Regions from separate parts of the Homo sapiens genome. Here region 2 is linked to region 1. Evidence: promoter capture Hi-C in human tissues and cell types (Jung and others, 2019). All regions are on one chromosome and are shown on one strand. Each heading gives the region's core, a stretch centred on a gene start or on the middle of the fragment in contact. The rest is flanking DNA. Distances are from core to core; before and after follow the strand shown. Region 1 holds the start of MAP1LC3A (microtubule associated protein 1 light chain 3 alpha). Region 2 holds the start of RBM39 (RNA binding motif protein 39).

Region 1 (5,261 bases), core at 951-3,450:
CCTCTACTTGACCGCCAAGGATGGCACAGAGGCCATGCTCGTGCTCAAGTAGGCCTGGCTGGCACAGGGCTGCATGGACCTCAGGGGGCTGTGGGGCCAGAAGCTGGGCCAAGCCCTCCAGCCAGAGTTGCCAGCAGGCGAGTGCTTGGGCAGAAGAGGTTCGAGTCCAGGGTCACAAGTCTCTGGTACCAAAAGGGACCCATGGCTGACTGACAGCAAGGCCTATGGGGAAGAACTGGGAGCTCCCCAACTTGGACCCCCACCTTGTGGCTCTGCACACCAAGGAGCCCCCTCCCAGACAGGAAGGAGAAGAGGCAGGTGAGCAGGGCTTGTTAGATTGTGGCTACTTAATAAATGTTTTTTGTTATGAAGTCTACCCTGAGACCACATCTGCATTGCACTCCTAGAGGGGGTGGCCCCTAATAATGTTCTGGAACACTACACACAGGTGTGGGTTTCCAGAGCGAGCACCGCGGCCACAGAACACAAGTCTGTGCGCCAGAGCCCGGGGATGGTGCGGGCAGCCCCACCAGCACCCTCCCCACTCCCAAGCAAGCGGCTGGAGGCACAGGGCCAGGCAGGCCTGAGCAATCTTTATTCTGCAGAGGGACAATGACCACAGATCCATACACCACGTGGAGACCGAGGGGCGGGGAGCCAGGGGCCAGTCTTTCAGGGGTGGGCAGGTCCAGGCGGTGGGCAGAGCCTCGGGTGGGTGAGGGGCAGATGGGCAGACAGGCAGGGGCCTAAAAAAAAGATGAACCACACAGCAGGGGTGCTGGGAGCTGCTCCCCACCCTCCCCCATCCCACCAGCCAGCACCCAGAGGGACAACCCTAACACGACCGGCCCAGGATCCACCCAGGGGCAGAGTAGGTGGGTTGGTGCCCTCTGACTAGGGGGGCACATGCCTGCCCAGCCCACCACGGTAGAGGCAGCTCAGTTCAGGAACCAGGAGCTCTCTGGGCAGGGCCTGACCGGGGCCGCCCGACTCCCAGGCCGAGCCCCCCTACTGCTGGCTCAGAAGCCGAAGGTTTCCTGGGAGGCGTAGACCATATAGAGGAAGCCGTCCTCGTCTTTCTCCTGCTCGTAGATGTCCGCGATGGGCGTGGACACACTCACCATGCTGTGCTGGTTCACCAGCAGGAAGAAGGCCTGCGTGGGGTTCAGCTGCAGGCGGCGCCTGCAGCCGGCGGGAGAGTATGCAGCTGTGAGGGGCTTGGCTGCGGGACGGACATAGCCCTGACCCCCAGAATGATTCCCAGCCTTTCACACCCATTCTCACCCCAGCTGTCACCTCTGACCCAACACCGACTGCAGCCCCGACCTTGACCTTTCCAGCCACCCCAGAACAGGGGCCCACCGCCCGGTCCCATCACCCCTGACCCCACTCCCACCCCTTCTCGGCGGGAACCCGGCTCCCCTCCCGACCCTAGCCACCTCCTGGCGGCGGCTGCCCACGCACCGGATGATCTTGACCAACTCGCTCATGTTGACATGGTCCGGGACCAAAAACTTGGTCTTGTCCAGGACGGGCAGCTGCTTCTCACCCTTGTAGCGCTCGATGATCACCTGGGAGCAGGGCGGGCGGGCAGGGGGTCGTGTCGGGAACGCGCGAGGCGGGGGCGGGGCAGGGCTGGGGGTGCGGGACTCACCGGGATTTTGCTGGGGTGCTGGTCGCGGATCTGCTGTACCTCCTTACAGCGGTCGGCTGCGGACAGCGGCCAGACCGTGAGGCCGGGTCGGGCCGGCCCAGGTCCGCCCCGCCTGTCCCGGAGGGGCGGCCCCCGGCCACGCCCCAGCTCCAGCCCCCACCCCCGGGGCCATCAGGCCCCACAGCCCCTGGCACCTATCGCGGTGGGGAAGCGGGCAGCCCCCGCCCAGGCCGGAGCTGGTCCCAGCCCGAGGGTCCAGCCAGAGCCTGACGTCACGGGGCTGACGTCACCTGCGGCAGTCGGGGTCGGCCGGCACCCCTGCCCCAGAGCTCGCAGCTCGCCTGCCGGGCCTCACCGAAGCTCCGCCGCTGCTTGAAAGGCCGGTCTGAGGGCATCGCGCGGGCCCGGCTGGGCGCGCAGGCCGGGGCTCTGGGGCGCGGGGATGTGTCTGCGGTTTGGGGGCTCCGGGGGCTCCGCGCCTCGCGCTCAAGGGCTCCGGGGCTCGCGCTGAGCACGGCGGCTGCGGCTGCGGGAGGTAACTCGCCCGGTGACGTCAGGTCACAACATTCCTTAAAGGGGAGGCCAGTGCGCCGCTCCCATTGGGCCGACGCACAACCCGCCCGCCCGGACCCGTGACGTCACGGCGCAGAGAGCCTGGGTCCGCGGACCGGGACGCGAGGGGCGGGGCTTCTGGGCGCGTCACAGTCCCGTGACGTCATGGGCAGCGCGGGAGCTTCTCCCGCAGCCCGAACTCAAGGTAAGGCCCGGAGGGCGGTGGGGCCGCCCTAGGCCGATGGAGCGGGCGGGCCAGGCTGCAGCCCCACGGCACCACTTCCCGCCCTCACCGAGTCTGTGTCAGGACTGACGCGGTTCTGGGCGCCGTGGGAAACAGCCGGAGCCAAAGGCCCGGCGCCTTCACGGGGCTTAGGGCGAGAGAAGGGAGAAGGTGCGGGAGGCACAGTCAGACACAGGATAGAACAGGATGCTAGAAATGAACGCCCAGGTTTGAAAAAGAATAATATAATTGAAAAGTAGAGCCATCGAAATTCAGGTCTCAGAGGATGAGGTGAGAAGGCAGAAAAGGACAACAGAAGAGAAATCGTGGACCTGGAGGCTGATCGGAAGCAGCTCACCAGAGAGACAGGTGATGGGGAATAAGGAAAAGGGCACAGATGGCAACGCCAGGAGAACTCGCGGGCCCGAGCAGAGCTCCAGAGGCGAACACTGAAAGACCTGCAGAGACAGTTCCTGAAAAAGAGCTGCCAGAAATGATGCTTAAAATCCAGAGCAGAATGCGCAGACTGAAGATCAACATTTTTTTGGGGGAGGGGGGAGGGGGACGAAGTCTCGTTCTGTCGCCAGGCTGGGGTGCAGTGGTGCGATCTCAGCTCACTGCAACCTCTGCCTCCCGGGTTCAAGCGATTCTCCTGCCTCAGTCAGCCTCCTCAGTAGCTGGGATTACAGGCGCCTGCCACCACCCCCAGCTAATTATTGTATTTTTAGTAGAGATGGAGTTTCACCATGTTGGCCAGGATGGTCTCGATCTCCTGACCTCGTGATCCACTCGCCTCGGCCTCCCAAAGTGCTGGGATTACAGGTGTGAGCCACCACGCCTGGCCGCCGAAATAATTTTTAAAGAATGTAGTTTAGTAACAAGGACATGGAACCCAAAAGGAAGAAATTAGATGGAAAAATGGTGAGCAAATTGGTAAACATGTGAATCTAAACAAGCATTTAATATGCAATATGAATAATAATGATTAATTTGTGGGCCACAGAAACAAGATGCATGAGACACAAGAACATGGAAGACTGAGAGGGCAATTTGAGAGGGGGTTAAAGAGACTGAGCATTGTCTGGCTTTGTAAAGTCAGGTGTGTATTTCAGATATTTAAGAGGATCACCAAAAGAATACAAACGGAACTATAACTGCCAATGCAGAGAAAAGGGTAGTGATGGGTATTAAAACTATAATGGAAGGCAGAAAGGGAGAAAAAGGAAGCAAAGTAAAAGGGATGGTAAATATATAGTACAAAACCAGAGGTAGAAAATGTGGTTTACATTCACCTCTTAAAACACAGATGACCAGATTGGCCAAGAAAAAATAAGATGCAGCTCTATGCTATTTACAAGAGGAAATTTAAAACCTAAGGGCACCAAAAAGTAAAACGATGGGAAAAGGTGTACTAGAGAAAAACTAACCAAAAGATGTACCTATAGAAAACTCAGACAAAATAGGCCTTCAGGCAGAAGACACTGGGGATAAGAGGATCAACATGAAATGATGCGAGGAGGAACTCTGTGAAGAGAGGAAAGTTCTGAACTTCTATGTTCCAGGGTTTTTGTTTTTAAGGCTGAAAATAGGCCAGGCGCAGTGGCTCATGCCAGTAATCCCAGCACTTTGGGAGGCCGAGGTGGGTGGATCACTAGAGGCTGGGAATTCAAGACCAGCCTGGCCAACATGGCAAAACTCTGTCTCTACTAAAAATACAAAGATTAGCTAGCTGGGCGTGGTGGTGCACGCCTGTCATCCCAACTACTCAGGTGGCTGAGGCACAAGAATTGCTTGAACCTGCTAGGCGGAGGTTGCAGTGAGCTGAGATTGCGCCACTGCCCTCCAGCCTGGGCAACAGAGTGAGACTCTGTCTCGAAAAAAAAAAAAAAGAGGCTGAAAATATATTAAGAACACAAGGAGAAATTGCCAGGTCCTCCATCATAGGGAGACATAAGACCTCTTTGAGTAACTAATAAACCAAACAACCAAAAAAAAAAGGACATAGAGGATGTTAATACAGTTACTAATCAAGATCAATGAACCCCAATAGAAAACCTGACAGTTAGTTTTTTAACTTTTAAAATTTAAATTTCAGACCTGTGTGAGACCAACACATTATTTTCAATCACACAAGGAACATTTACAAAAATGACCCAACTACTAGGGTGCACGACAAATCTCAACAGATATCAAATCAGTTTCAACCATATTCTTTGGCCACAGACAAAAGCCGCGTAAGCTCCAGCTGTGTGGAAATTTAAACCTATTCTAAATATGAAGTCATATATAAATAAAAATTATTTAGTTCAAACAAAAAATGAGGATACATATGCTAAGAAAACTTGGTGGCCGGGCGCAGTGGCTCACGCCTGTAATCCCAGCACTTTGGGAGGCCAAGGCAGGCGGATCACGAGGTCAGGAGATCGAGACCATCCTGGCTAACATGGTGAAACCCCGTCTCTACTAAAAATACAAAAAATTAGCTGGGCGTGGTGGCGGGCGCCTGTAGTTCCAGCTACTCGGGAGGCTGAGGCAGGAGAATGGCTCGAACCTGGGAGGCGGAGCTTGCAGTAAATGGAGATCGCGCCACTGCACTCCAGCCTGGGCGACAGAGCGAGACTCCATCAAAAAAAAAAAAAAAAGAAAGAAAACTTGGGAGGGGGGCCATGGCAGGCCAGGTGTGGTGGTTCATACCTGTAATCCCAGCACTTTGGGGGGCCCAGACTGGAGAATTGCTTGAGCCCAAGAGTTCAAGGCTGCAGTGAGCTGTGATTGCAGCTCTGCATTCCAGCCTCGGTGACAAAATAAGATCCATTTCTTTAAAAAAAAAAA
Region 2 (5,322 bases), core at 2,786-5,285, 1.2 Mb before region 1:
AATTACCTGGGCCTGGTGGCATGTGCTTGTAGTCCCAGCTACTTGGGAGGCTGAGATGGGAGGATCTCTTGAGCTCAGGAGGTCAAGGCTGCAGTAAGCTGTGATTTTGCCGCTGTACTCTAGCATGGGTGACAAAGTGACACTGTTTCAAGAAAGAAAAAGGCCGGGCGAGGTGGCTCACGCCTATAATCCCAGCACTTTGGGAGGCCGAGGCAGGCAATTCCCTTGAGGTCAGGAGTTCGAGACCAGCCTGGGTAACATGATGAAACCCCATCTCTACCAAAAATACAAAAAATTAGCCGGGTGTGGTGGCATGCTCCTGTAATCCCAGCTACTTGGGAGGCTGACGCAGGAGAATTGCTTGAACCTGGGAGGCGGAGGTTGCAGTGAGCTGAGATTGTGCCATTGCACTCCAACTTGGGCGACAGAGCGAGACTCCATCTCGAAAAAAAAAAAAATATATATATATACATATATATACACACATGCACACACACACACACACACATATATATATATAGAGAGAGAGAGAGAGCGTGAGCCAAGAACGCGCCATTGCACTCCAGCCTGGGCAACAAGAGTGAAACTCTGTCTCAAAAAAAAAAAAAAAGAAAAGAAATGTTAAATGCTTGAGGTGATGGATTACCCCAATTACTCTGATTTGATTATTACACATAATATGCCTTTATCAAAACATCACATTTGAAGCCCAAATCTCTACAAAAAAAAATTTTTTTTTTGAGAAAGAGTTTCGCTCTTGTTGCCCAGGCTGGAGTGCAATGGCGTGATCTCGGCTCACTGCAACCTCCGCCTCTCAGGTTCAAGTGATTCTCCTGCCCCAGCCTCCCAAATAGATGGGATTACAGGCATGCGCCACCACGCCTGGCTAATTTTGTATTTTTAGTAGAGACGGGGTTTCTTTATGTTGGTCAGCCTGGTTGCAAACCCTCAATCTCAGGTGATCCACCTATCTCGGCCTCCCAAAGTGCTGGGATTATAGGAGTAAGTCATCACACCCAGCCCAAAAAATTTTTAAAAAATTAAGCTGGGCATGGTGATGTGCACTTGTTTTTCTAGCTAATTGGGAGGCTGAGCTGGGAGGATTGCTTGAGCCCAGGAATGCAAGGTTACAGTAATCTATGATGTTGCCACTGCACTTCAGCCTGTGGGACAGTGTGAGACCCTGTCTCAATTAAAAAACGAAACAATTCTACTTGCTGTAGATTGTTGGGGACAAAAAACAAAACAAAACCAAACCACATGTATCTGATAAACATATACATTTAAAATGTACCCTTAATAATTAAAAAATTAAAAATCCACATTGGTAAAATACATTTAGTTTTCAGCCAAATTCTCTAAGTATATTCATTACCTTTTTGGCTCTATTTCAAGCTCTATTCCTCCATCTTTTGAAAGCAAAATGATGAAAGGGGAATTAATTTACATAGAAAGTTCATGAACCAGAGTTAGTGAAGTTTTGTAAAGTGAATGAGAAGCATCTTATGTTCGTGATATTTTCTTTTGTGTTAAGAGACAGGGTCTTGCTCTGCAGCCCAGGCTGGGGTGAAGTGGCACGTGATTCTAGCTGACTGCAGTCTTGAAGTCCTGGGCCCAAGCTATCCTCCCATCTCAGCCTCCTGAGTAGTTGGAACTACAGACATGCATCACCACGTCTGGCTAATTTTAAATTTTTTGTAGAGACAGGGTCTTGCTATATTGTCCAGGCTGGTCTCAAACTCCTGGACTCAAGCAATCCTCCTGCCTTGGCCTCTCAAAGTGCTGGGATAACAGGCCATGAGCCGCCATGCCTGGGGATATTTTCTTTTAAACATAAAAAATACTTGTTTCAGAAACTTGATTTTTCCAAACGGCTTTTCTTGATGATCTGCTAAGTTGCCATATTGCCTCTGATGGTCCTTGAGCAGAAAACTATTTAAGGGACCTTAAATCATCAAGCGACTTAGAGCTTAAATCCTTCCTCTTCCCAAACAAGAAGTCTAGCGGTTAAGGTCAAATTCTGTCATGTCATGTTCCTAAACAAACAAGAAAAACCAAGTGCCATCTTCATGCTTTCATTTTGCACTAGTCATAATACTGGAATTACCGAGGGGCAGGAAGAGATAGCAAAGGTTAGCTTGCTTTATTTCTGACATATTATGCTTCAATTTCCTGTGACAGTTTTCTTTTCTTTCTTTTTCTTTCTTTTTTTTTTGAGATGGAGTCTCGATCTCTGTCACCCAGGCTGGAGTGCAATGGCATGATCTCAGCTCACTGCAACCTCTGCCTCCCAGGTTCAAGTGATTCTCCTGCCTCAGCCTCCCGAGTAGCTGGGAATTGCAGGCGCCTGCCACCTAGTTTTTTTTTTATTTTTAGTAGAGACAGGGTTTCGCCATGTTGGTCAGGTCTTGAACTCCTGACCTCAGGCGGTCCACCCGCGTCGGCCTCCCAAAGTGCTGGGATTAGATGCATGAGCCACTGCGCCCAGCCTCCAGAGCGAGACTGTCTCAGAAATAAAATAAAAAGAGGATCTGAATTTTCAGAAAAAGGATTAAGGGAGTATTCTAACTACAAAATAACTGTTATTAATAATCCTCTAAGATAAATCCTAACCTGTGTGTAAAGTTAACCTGAGAGGCAAAACCACTTAACATCTATATTTGCTCTAAATAATTTTGTTTAGCAGAAACAGAAGTTAGCTGTTTTGAAGATCAAATATTTACCAGGCGTTTTACAGACATTATATCATTTAATCTTCACTATAGCCCTTCTGAGCCTTCATTCATTAATTTACTGAGGGTCCACTTGGGCAGACATGCCCTGCTAACCTCTAAAAATTCAGTACTGAGCATTACCTGCCTTCCTCAGTCTCAAGTAGCTTAGACTAGCTACTAAGTACGTCCTCTTTTAAATCAGGAAATGAAAGATCCCCTCTGAGAGGTTAATTTGCTTGTCCAAGGTCACACAGTGTTGCAGCAGCTAGTTACACTAATCAAGGCGTCTCATTTCCAATCTTTTCTGCCCTCAATCATTAGACTGTTAAGATTAGAGGGTAAGATTTTTGCTTTGAAGACTTCTTTCCAGTTTTTTTTCCCAGCATCTAGGAGGAAACCTCACACAGTACTGACCAAAGAACAAATGGCTAATTCATACTCTAATTACCTGGCATCTAGAAGACTTCAGGGGAGAGGAGCCAGGTCCCAGGGGGAAGGGGGCCTTTTTTTTTTTGTTGGGGGGGTGTCTTATTTTTTCACCAAATCGTCCAGTAATATTCAGGAAGGGGAACATTTTTGAAGGAACGGTAGCAACCCTGACACAAGAGCTGATTAAATTCGGGGCACAAAACTGATCCCATGCCAAGGGAAGCAAGAGTTTATTTTTTCCACCTTTTTTTTGCTTTTCTCCACTATTTCCAAGGTTGTTTCAAAGCTCGACAGTGGAGGCCGCGCCATTGGCTCCAAATGACAGGGAAATCTATTTTTATTATCTCCCCCTCTCCCCCTACCCCTAAAGATCTCTTCTTCTGGCCTTCTGATACACTTTTCCACTTCCTCTCCACCCTCAGCGGATAATCTGAATATGGCCGTTTTATCCTATCGCCATAAGGACTAGGTTGCCTTATGGCGACCTTGACAGCCATCTGTGTGGGAGGCCGGAGCGGGGGCGATCGGCTGTGCCGGAGGAATCTTCAGATGGCCGTGAGGAGGCGCCACGAGGGGGAGGTGACCGCTGAGCTCCACTCAGCGAAGAGCTCTCTGAAAGATTGACAGGCAGCCTACCAACTGTCTTTGCCCTAGAGACCCGCTCTGTCTCGCGAGATTTGGGTGCTTACGCGGAGGGGGAGTGAAAGGCGCCTCACTGAATGGGGGATGGGAATATCTGTGGCGCAATCATTGCGCGAGATTGGGCTACGGTCGCCGGAGCCATACTTAGGTCTCGCGATACTTCGGCCGCTCAAATTTGGAGCTTGGGGCAGCTTCTCGCGAGAGCCCGTGCTGAGGGCTCTGTGAGGCCCCGTGTGTTTGTGTGTGTGTATGTGTGCTGGTGAATGTGAGTACAGGGAAGCAGCGGCCGCCATTTCAGGGAGCTTGTCGACGCTGTCGCAGGGGTGGATCCTGAGCTGCCGAAGCCGCCGTCCTGCTCTCCCGCGTGGGCTTCTCTAATTCCATTGTTTTTTTTAGATTCTCTCGGGCCTAGCCGTCCTTGGAACCCGATATTCGGGCTGGGCGGTTCCGCGGCCTGGGCCTAGGGGCTTAACAGTAGCAACAGAAGCGGCGGCGGCGGCAGCAGCAGCAGCAGCAGCAGCAATCTCTTCCCGAACACGAGCACCACAGGCGCCCGAAGGCCGGAACAGGTACGGGGCGTTGCGGACCCGCGTATTATCTCAGCTTTCTCGAGGTTTGGCTCCATTTTGGGCTGAGGGGCGCTTTTGGAGGTCTTTAGCGACCGGGGTGGGGGGTGGTTTTCGAGAAATCGGCCCTGTTTCAGTGACCGCGCCCTTATTTTCCAGTCGGGTATAGTCTGGATTCTTGGGGCGGTAGGGACCCCCGAGAGGCCGCGGTAGAATGGTGACCTGTCTCCTTCGAGGCCTGGGCCGGCCGCGACCTCCCAACATGGCGCCAGTTGAACGCTGCCTTGGCTCATAACCCCTCCCAATGGAGGGAGTTTCTCTTTGCCCCTAAAATGGCAGCGCGGGTTTTTGCCCGGAAAGAGGCGCTCTCGTTCGGGTCTCCCAGTTTCTGTTTTTGGAGTTGACAGCAGAGTTTTAAATATTGGATATTGAAGTCTTCATTTTCGTGTGTTTCGTGTAAGAGGCGTTTTGGATTTACTTACGTAAGCCAAACCTGGTTAAAGTGCATGTCACTTTAGTCATTAATTGTAGGGCTTTTGGAGGTTTTTCTTAAGTTTTCGAGTGTGTCGGCTGAGAAGAAAAATTCAGTCGATTTGAAAAACGTTTACCAGGCCGGGCGCGGTGGCTCACGCCTGTAATCCCAGCAGTTTGGGAGGCAGAGGCAGGCGGATCACTTGAGGTTAGGAGTTCGAGACCAACCTCATCAACATGGTGAAACCCCGTCTCTACCAAAAATACAAAAATTAGCCGGGCGTGGTGGCAGGCGCCTGTGATCCCAGCTATTCGGGAGGTGAGGTGGTAGGATCGCTGGAACCTGGGAGGCGGAGCTTGCAGTGAGCCGAGATCGCGCTACTGCACTTCAGCCTGGGCAACTAGAGCGAAACTCCGTCTCAAAAAAAAAAAAAAAAAAAAAGAAAAATGTTTACTCACGGAATCGTCTTGTTCTTTTCCTAGGCGTTTAGAGAAAATGT

Evidence for each region. The method cuts DNA at HindIII sites, captures the fragments that hold promoters and counts their contacts. A contact is called where the count stands out against the background at its distance.
Region 2: a contact is called between the fragment with the promoter of RBM39 here and the fragment with the promoter of MAP1LC3A in region 1, in 1 of the 25 tissues and cell types used here (dorsolateral prefrontal cortex).

The regions. Positions count from the first base shown.
Region 1 is chr20:34,555,657-34,560,917 of GRCh38, reverse strand. It overlaps MAP1LC3A (microtubule associated protein 1 light chain 3 alpha), which reads right to left and starts at 2,200. Exons shown (of 4, transcript NM_032514.4): 1 at 2,010-2,200; 2 at 1,655-1,710; 3 at 1,465-1,571; 4 at 573-1,182. The coding sequence starts at 2,049. The coding sequence ends at 1,020. It overlaps PIGU (phosphatidylinositol glycan anchor biosynthesis class U), which reads left to right. Exons shown (of 12, transcript NM_080476.5): 12 at 1-376. The coding sequence ends at 52. RefSeq lists silencers at 395-444, 2,019-2,068, 2,409-2,498. The HindIII fragment of the contact is 19,125 bases long and covers 1-5,261 here.
Region 2 is chr20:35,740,973-35,746,294 of GRCh38, reverse strand. It overlaps RBM39 (RNA binding motif protein 39), which reads left to right and starts at 4,035. Exons shown (of 17, transcript NM_184234.3): 1 at 4,035-4,354. RefSeq lists enhancers at 3,596-3,695, 3,866-4,085, 3,447-4,132, 4,146-4,295 and a silencer at 4,556-4,655. The HindIII fragment of the contact is 31,582 bases long and covers 1-5,322 here.